Linked DNA regions of Homo sapiens: region 2 is linked to region 1. Evidence: promoter capture Hi-C in human tissues and cell types (Jung and others, 2019). All regions are on one chromosome and are shown on one strand. The core of a region is centred on a gene start or on the middle of the fragment in contact, and the rest is flanking DNA. Distances in the headings are between cores, read along the strand shown. Region 1 holds the start of CYP2A7 (cytochrome P450 family 2 subfamily A member 7). Region 2 has its middle 24 kb from the start of CYP2A13.

What was found. The method cuts DNA at HindIII sites, captures the fragments that hold promoters and counts their contacts. A contact is called where the count stands out against the background at its distance.
Region 2: a contact is called between a fragment that was not itself captured here and the fragment with the promoter of CYP2A7 in region 1, in 1 of the 25 tissues and cell types used here (H1 embryonic stem cells).

The regions. Positions count from the first base shown.
Region 1 is chr19:40,880,821-40,885,183 of GRCh38, reverse strand. CYP2A7 (cytochrome P450 family 2 subfamily A member 7) reads left to right here and starts at 2,953. Exons shown (of 9, transcript NM_000764.3): 1 at 2,953-3,153; 2 at 3,433-3,595. The coding sequence starts at 2,974. The HindIII fragment of the contact is 10,061 bases long and covers 1-4,363 here.
Region 2 is chr19:41,062,614-41,066,953 of GRCh38, reverse strand. No RefSeq gene overlaps it. Among named protein-coding and RNA genes, the nearest start is that of CYP2A13, 24 kb to the left of the region's middle. The HindIII fragment of the contact is 5,575 bases long and covers 1-4,340 here.

The DNA of each region.
Region 1 (4,363 bases), core at 1,704-4,203:
AAAAGATTTGTGAGCTTTAGACTAGAGAATGTAAAAGCAAGGAATGTGCTTAGGGAACATCTCATCAATCTGCTTCATCCTACAGATTAAAGAGAACAACTACCATTCATTGAGCACTTACTGCCATGTACCTCATCTGCATTAACACATATACTTCTCCCCTAAATAGCCAAAGAGGTAGGAGCTGTTCTTGGCTCCATAAGACTCAGAGAGATGAAGTCAGCTGTTCAAAGCCACACAACAAAGAAAGGATAAGGTTAGGATTCCAATCCAGGCCTTAATCATTGCACCATCCATTCAGAAAGGGAAACTGAGGCCCAGCAAAGGAAAGGGATCTTCCTGGGCTCGCCACTAACTCACTCTGAAAGCCTGTTCCCAAGACACTGCCCACTGGGACAAGTCCCTCCCACATGATTTCAGACACCATTCTCTCACTCCATGCTCTAGGGTAATCAACAAGTCCAAAATTCATTGACCTCTATGTCCACAAATACTAGAGTTCTCCCAACCTGTCTCTCCCCATCCCCTCCCTGGCCAGGTCATGGCAACCTGCTGATCACTCAGTGCACTTCTTAGTGCCAACCCCACTGAGAAACAAACTCCTCAGATTTCTGTCTCCCACCTTTTTAAGAAACAAGAAGGAAAAGGAGGAGCCAGGCCCAGGTGCAGGCTGGTGAACAGGATTAGAGGGATTGATATCTGCCAAGCTGGTGCTAATCTTCCTTTCCACCTCTTCCCCTCCAAAATCAACAAACAACTTTCCTCTCTCTGCCTTGTTCTCTGACCTTTGTTCCCTCCACACAGGTCTCAGAGCTCAGCATCCTAGAACAGTTTGAGCAAGATGTCAGTCCTGGGGGTGCCAACCTCACCCACCTCCACTTGTCCAAAGTTGGTGACCCAGAGGACAGGTGCAACCCTAAATGGTCCAACCACCAGAGCCTGTCCTGTGGCCATCTGGGGCCCCTCTCAGGGTCTGGCTGAGGCTCATCTCAGACCCACATAGGACCAATATCAGCACCTGCCTCATGCTCATGTCAGAGCCCACTGGGACCAACCTCAGACCCTATATGGTGCCACCCTTATGCCCTCCTGAAGCAGGACACTCTTATGCCCTCAATGACACCTGAGACAACACACAGAGCCCTCTTGGCACCAAACATGACTTCAATATTCTCCTGGTGTCAAGTTCAGTGCCAACTTGTTTCCCATCCTCGCATACACCTGGGGGCAGTCCCAAAGCCAACACGATGCCTTTCCCTCCCTGGCCATACCTGATGCTGATATCAGAACCCGCCAATGTCATCAGTGTGTCCACTGCTGATGCCAGTCTCAGCACTCACCTCCTGCTAAGGCTGGCCCGCACTTGACTCCCAGGGTGATCTAGGCCAGTCAATGAAGGGGGGCGAGGAGAAAGTTCACATCCCAGCTCCCTCACTTACTCCCTGTGTGACCTCACTCAAGAGGGTTTATGGAGTCTAGATCTGCTCATCTTCAAAATGAGGATGATCACGATGAACCAACCTCACTGTTACAAAGATTCAACCAGATCATACACACCTAGACTTAATCTTCCCATATATGACCATGCTCACCAAAGGGTAACTGTCCTGTTTACTAAGGAAGAATTTCCCTGAAGGAAGGACAGGAGGGCTACTCATCCCTTCTCCACTCACACCCACCCCAGGATCTGCCTCTGTGCCTAACACTGGAGTTTACCCCAATCTCTTCTGCGACTGTTCCCTCTGCCTGCTAATAGTAGTAGCCCCTGACAAAGCAGGAATCGCCCTTAAAGGAGACTTAACTCACCCTCAAATGTGATCTTCTCTTCCCAAACACTCCCTTTCCACTGGCAGGAAAACCAAATCCAGAAAGGGGAACTAAGTACACAGAGCAGGAGAGATGGGAGTTCAGGGCCACTCACACATGTCCCCTGCCCACTGTCTGTTTTCTGTCCTCTGTAGATCTTTATATAAAATGAGAAACATAAACAACAATCATAATATTAATAGGGATGATACAATCAATCTAGTGGGTTTCCCTGAGGATCTGGGTTGGAAACCAGCGGACAACCCTTGGGACACTTGAGATTTTTCCACCATTTGGGGGTTGTTATTACTATTTCTCCAGACCTAGCCAATCCCTCTGCCAACCGCTAACTCCAGGTACTCTTCTCCAGGTGTGGGGAAAGTTCCCCTGAAATATGGCCCTGGTCTTCCACCCCTTTCCCAACCAGAGATGGGCAGTGGAGGTTCCATGGCACCCATCCTGGCCTCACTCTGAGGTTCCAATGAGGATTCTGGGCATCAAGAGATAGCTCTGGGCAAAAGCAAAATCAAGTCAGCCCCTGGGCCCATTGCTGGGCTGCTGGGCTTTCTGGGAGCACCTGCTGGCTTGCTACACACTCCTCCTCCCAGAAACTCCACACCCACAGCCCTGGGTCTTCCTAGCCCCGAGACTTTCAAGTCCATATGCCTGGAGTCCCCCCTCCTGAGACCCTTAACCCTGCATCCTCCGCAACAGAAGACCTCCAGATGCACAGCCACACTTCCATCTCACCCTAATAAAACCCAGACCTTTGGATTCCTCTCCCTTGGAATGCCCAAATCCACAACTTTGGGGTGCATTCTCACTCTCAGACCCCAAATCCAAAGCCCAAGTGCTCCCCTATGCAAATATTCCAAACTCTTCAGTTCTACAGTTTATCGGTTGCCCCCTCCTAAATCCACAGCCCTGCGGCACCCCTCCTGAAGTACCACAGATTTAGTCTGGAGGCCCCCTCTCTGTTCAGCTGCCCTGGGGTCCCCTTATCCTCCCTTGCTGGCTGTGTCCCAAGCTAGGTGGCATTCATGGTGGGGCGTGTAGTTGGGAGGTGAAATAAGGTGATTATGTAATTAGCCAAAGTCCATCCCTCTTTTTCAGGCAGTATAAAGGCAAACCACCCCACCCATCACCATCTGTCATCTCACTACCACCATGCTGGCCTCAGGGCTGCTTCTGGTGGCCTTGCTGGCCTGCCTGACTGTGATGGTCTTGATGTCTGTCTGGCAGCAGAGGAAGAGCAGGGGGAAGCTGCCTCCGGGACCCACCCCACTGCCCTTCATTGGAAACTACCTCCAGCTGAACACAGAGCACATATGTGACTCCATCATGAAGGTGTCCCAAGGCAGGAAGATGGGTGGCACAGGGTGGGGGCTGCCTAGTTGGCTGGGGCTTTGTGGCAGGGGATTGACCAGTGTGGACCAGAGTCTTAGGAAAGGGAGTTTTGGAGTTTCAGCATCCGGGTCCTAGCCAGGAAAGACAGGATCTTGGGATGTCCAGCTCCCTGACTGTGAGAACCTGGGGGTGAAGGATCCCAGTACTTGACATCTCGGTGCTGGGCCCCATTCAGAGTGGGGGCTGCTCCCTCTAACCACTCCCACTCGCCTCCATCAGTTCAGTGAGTGCTATGGCCCCGTGTTCACCATTCACTTGGGGCCCCGGCGGGTCGTGGTGCTGTGTGGACATGATGCCGTCAGGGAGGCTCTGGTGGACCAGGCTGAGGAGTTCAGCGGGCGAGGCGAGCAAGCCACCTTCGACTGGGTCTTCAAAGGCTATGGTGAGGGGGTGCCCAAGATGGGGAAGGTGGCCAGGCGGACACGATGGTCTCAGTGTTGCCAGCCTTCTCCCTGACTCTCCTGCCCACTGGAGGCTATGGCAGAACCCCCGGTCTGGTCTTATCTCCCCATCTCCCTTCACTGTGGCCTCTCCATGTGTATCCCTCACCTGTCTCCAGCGTCCCTGTCGTGATTCCTCCCTGCCTCTCTCTGCCCCACCTCCTTATTCTCTCTCACTGGAGTCTCCTCTTTCCCCTCTCTCTCCATCTCTGAGGACATCCTGGGTTTCTGTTTTCCAGCCCTGGTCCTCTGTCTTCATTTGTCTTTTTGTTGCTCTCAGCTTCTGTGCTTCTCCATGTTTCTCCTCTCTCCACTTCCCTCTCTCACTTTTTCCTCTCCCTTAGGATTTCATGCTATTCTTACTTCCACATCTCCAGCCTCCATCTCCTGGTAACAGTCTCTCTTCCTTCCAGACCCTCTCTGTTTCTGTCTCAGTATTTTTCTCTCTTCTCCAGCTCAGCTTAAGAATGTTTCACCATTTTTATTTCCTCCTCCCAGATCTCCCCATATCTCACTTCCCCTCCCTCCATCCTCTTCCTCCATCTCTCTCTTTCTCTCCCCACTTCCTACCCTTCCTCCATGGAGTATCCCCTTATCCCTCTGTTTCTCTGCGCATCTCTATCTGGCCTTTCTGTTTCTCTTCTGATTCTCTTATTCTTTCTACCCGGTCTCTCTCTCTCTCTCTCTCTCTCTCTCTCTCTCTCTCTCTC
Region 2 (4,340 bases), core at 581-3,080, 180 kb before region 1:
GTTTGTTTAGTGTTGTTATTACCAAATATCTGTGGCTGAGTAATTTATAATAAAAAGAGATTTATTTGGCTCACAGTCCTGCCTGCTGTACAAGAAGCATGGCACCAGCATCTGCTTCTGGTGAGGGCTTCAGGCTGCTTCTACTCATAGCAGAAGGCAAAGTAGAGCCAGCATGTGCAGGGATCACATAGTGAGAGAAGAAGCAAGAGACAGAGGGTATGGCCAAATTCTTTTAAACAACCAGCTCTCATGGTAACTAATAGAGCAAGAACCCATTCATTACCATGAGGAGGACATCAGGTAACTCCTGGATCATGAACCAAACACTTCCCATTAATTTCCACCTCCAACATTGGGGATCAAATTTCAATGTGAGGTTTGCAGGGACAAACATCCAAACGAGAGCAGTTGGTAAATGGGAAATTCAACCACTTCTCCAGGACCACTCTTACCAATAGTCCCATAATTCAGCAACTACAGAGGCCTCTAGGACCCTACTCCATCTTCAGACAATGTTTGTGCTGCCCTGGTTGTTAAATATGTTTATTATCATCATCTGTAATACTCAAATCCATACATACATCCTCCTTACAAGGAATCTTGCAGTATCTCACAACTGATGATTTATACTCCATGGGTATACATTGGGTCAAATTATGCATTTTATACCTTTTGAGAAACACTGAACTAATAATATTTCTGAGACCTCTTCAAGCTCTGACATGCTGTGTTTAGACTTGAACCCTAAGCTTGAGTTTAAGAGTGAAAGGAGATGCAGAAAAGAAGTTGGGGGCAGGTATGAGTACCAGGAAGACTTCCCCATGGATGTGGGAGAGTATGGCATTAAATTACATTGACACACAGAAACTGTGGGAAATAACAAATCGTTGTTGTCTTAAGCCTCTAAGTGTTGAGCTGTTTTGTTATGTAGTATTAGATAACTAATACACAGGTATTTTCTAGTTATGATAGAAAATAGCTAATTTTCCATTAAAGGGAGAAATACCAAGTTCCATCTTAATGAATTTAAGTTCTTAAAAAGGAGAGTCAATTAAAGAAACATTAAATTCATATATGGGTGGTACTCAGACACAACAATAAAAAAGAAGGCAACAAGCACTTATCTTGGTTCAATGATTTTTCAAGCATTTTTCACAGAAGCCAAATTTCCTAAGATATAGGTTAACTGCTATAACAAAGACCCAAAACAGTGGTTTAAAGGGGCTTACATAAGATGGAAATTTAATTTTCTTTCTTTCTTTATTTTTTGAAGATGGAGTCTCGTTCTGTCACCCAGGCTGGAATGCAGTGGCACCTTCTGGGCTCACTGCAACCTCGGCCTCCCGGGTTCATGCGATTCCCCTGCCTCAGCTTCCCGAGTAGTTGGGATTACAGGTGTGTGCCACCACGCCCGGCTAATTTTTGCATTTTTAGTAGAGATGGGGTTTCACCATGTTGGCCAGCCTGGTCTTGAACTCCTGACCTCCAGTGATCCACCTGCCTTGGCCTCCCAAAGTGCTGGGATTACAGGTATGAGCCACCGCGCCCTGTGGAAATTTAATTTTCTTACACTTAATGGCTCTGCATAAGCAACCCTGAGCTCATCAGGCAGTTCACTGATATCAAAGACCCAGGCTCCTTCCATGTTGCTGCTGCTCCTTCCTAAGTTGTTGCTCTTGCTATCCCAGTTAGCCAGAAAGAGGAAATATTCTGGAAGGAAACCTTGCCCCTCCCTCTAAAAGCATAAACTGAAAGTTGCAGGCATCACTTTCACTCACTTCTCATTGGTCAGAACTTGGCTACACGGCCATACGCAGCTGCAAGGGAGCTTGGGAAATGTAGTTTTTAACTCTAGATAATCATGTAGCTGGATAGAATTCTATTACTACGGAAGACAGGGAAAACAAATATTGGGAGACATCTAGGTGCCTCTGAAATATGAACCTTTTCTCAAATACAGTCATATATGAATTTAATATATCAAACCAGATGACAATGAGAGCTATACCTCCAAGCACCTGAAACATCTGAATGCCTTTCCCCTCTGTATGAAAGGTATTACACAGAGTTTAAAAAAAAAAGTTTATCCAGCAGCTTCAGGTTATAAGAATATTTGTTTTAGGGTGACCTGAATAATCTCTGACTATTTAACATGCCCTTCCTTGCAAGCTGGTTGTTTGGATTAGAGGATACCCTGCTTGTCAAGCACACAGCTCCATCCATGCCTGGCACAAAGTGACAAATTAAAAAAATTTGGTTGGGCGCAGTGGCTCATGCCTGTAATCCCAGCACTTGGGGAGGCCAGGCAGGTGGATCACTTGAGGTCAGGAGTTCAAGACCAGCCTGGCCTACCTGGCAAAACCCCATCTCTACTAAAAATACAAAAATTAGCCAGGCGTGGTGGTGGGTGCCTGTAATCCCAGCTACTTGGGAGGCTAAGGCAGGAGAATCGCTTGCACCTGGAAGGCGGAGGTTGCAGTGAGCCAAGATCACACCACTGAACTCCAGCTGAACTTTAGTTCAAGTTCCTCCATTCCTGGCTTCCTGTCTGGAGGTGGGATGGTGAAGGGAGCTGTTCTAAGAGTACTTGCTCTCTCCCTTCCTGTCTGAATAGGAAAACCAGACTCACAACCAACCACCATCACCACACACATGCCACCACCACAAGATGGTTAAGAGGTTAGTCCTGAATGGGTGTTAAGTGCTGGGGGGTGAGGATCAGAATGGGATGGGAAGGTGAAAGCTAAGGGAGTCAAAGGAGATGGGCTGAGCTGAGTCTCTACTCCAAGAAAGACATTCTAGCAGCAGATCCAAGAGACAAAAGGTGGCACTGTGTGTGAGTCACTCAGCTTTCCCAGAATTTCCACCACTTCTGGACACAGGATGCCTCAGCTCAGCCAGCCAAACCCCATTCCCCAAACCTACAGATACCTTGAGGGATTCGGTTTCCAAGTCTGAGAATACAGTCGCATGAAAAGGACATTGAATTTTGTTAAATAGTACATGAGGGTAGGATATAATATCCAGGAAGTTCATTTCAGGACAATAAGGCTTTGAAAATATTTGGTGCAGAAAAGGTAGTTAATCACTTTTTAGATTATTAAGACATTCCCCTCCAGAGACTGGGGTTCAGAGGTGATCTCTACACCTTAGACTTTCAAAACACACACACACACACACACACACACACACACTGACACACACTACAGCAAAGTTCTTTTTTTTCTTTTTTTAAATTTGATACAGCAAATTTCTGATACACCAACATGGGTAATCTTTGATTATTGTTATTTAACATTAACTTGAGTAGAAAACAAGAACTCTTTGAACAAAACCCTTTCAATTGATTTATTTCTCTTGTTTTCTAAATCTTCAGCTTACTTTCCTTATTAACATTCTAGTGTTCCATTATACAGTAGGGTGGCTGGCTGTAGTTAACAATAATACATTGCATATTTCAAAATAGTTAGAAGAGAGGATTTTGAATGTTCTTACCACAAAGAAATGACAATGTCTCAGTAATGGATATAATAATTACCCGAATTTGATTGTTATACATTGCATACATGTATCAAAACATCACACATATGTACAATTATTATGTACATATATATACCACAAATATGTACAATTATTATGTGTCAATTTAAAAAATCTAATAACTGATTAATTAAGGTTATCCTTAATTAAATAATGAACAAAGAGTTTTCCTTGTTGTCTATCAAGACTTTCTAAAACAACATGGTCTGCCAGCTGCGGTGGCTCACGCCTGTAATTCCAGCACTTTGGGAGGCTGATTGGGGTGGATCACTTGAGGCCAGGAGTTCGAGACTAGCCTGGCCAACATGGTGAAACCGCATCTCTAGAAAAATACAAAAATTAGCTGGGCATAGTGGTGTGCACCTGTAGTCCTAGCTACTTGGGAGGCTGAGGCATGAGAATTGCTTGAACCCGGGAGGCAGAAGTTGTAGTGAAATGAGATCACGCCACTATGCTCCAGCCTGGGTGACAGAGTGATAATCTGTCTCAAAAAAGTAAAATAAAATAAAATAAAATAAAACAACATGGTTTCCCTATTTGATAGATGGAGAAACAAGTCCCAGAGGTTAAGTGACTTGCCCAGTGAAGAAAAGACAGAGCTGCCGCTTGTACTCAGATTGTCTGGATCCTAAAATCAATAGCCTAAAAAGGTAATAATCTGCCTCTTACACCCCACCAAAAAATTCTGTTCAATTCTGTTGAGCTGAGAGAGAAGAACAGAGAGACTGGAAATTTGAAGAAAGGGGAATGGCCCCAGAGGATTTCCCTTTGTGAATTCAATCTACCCTTACTCAGGTGGG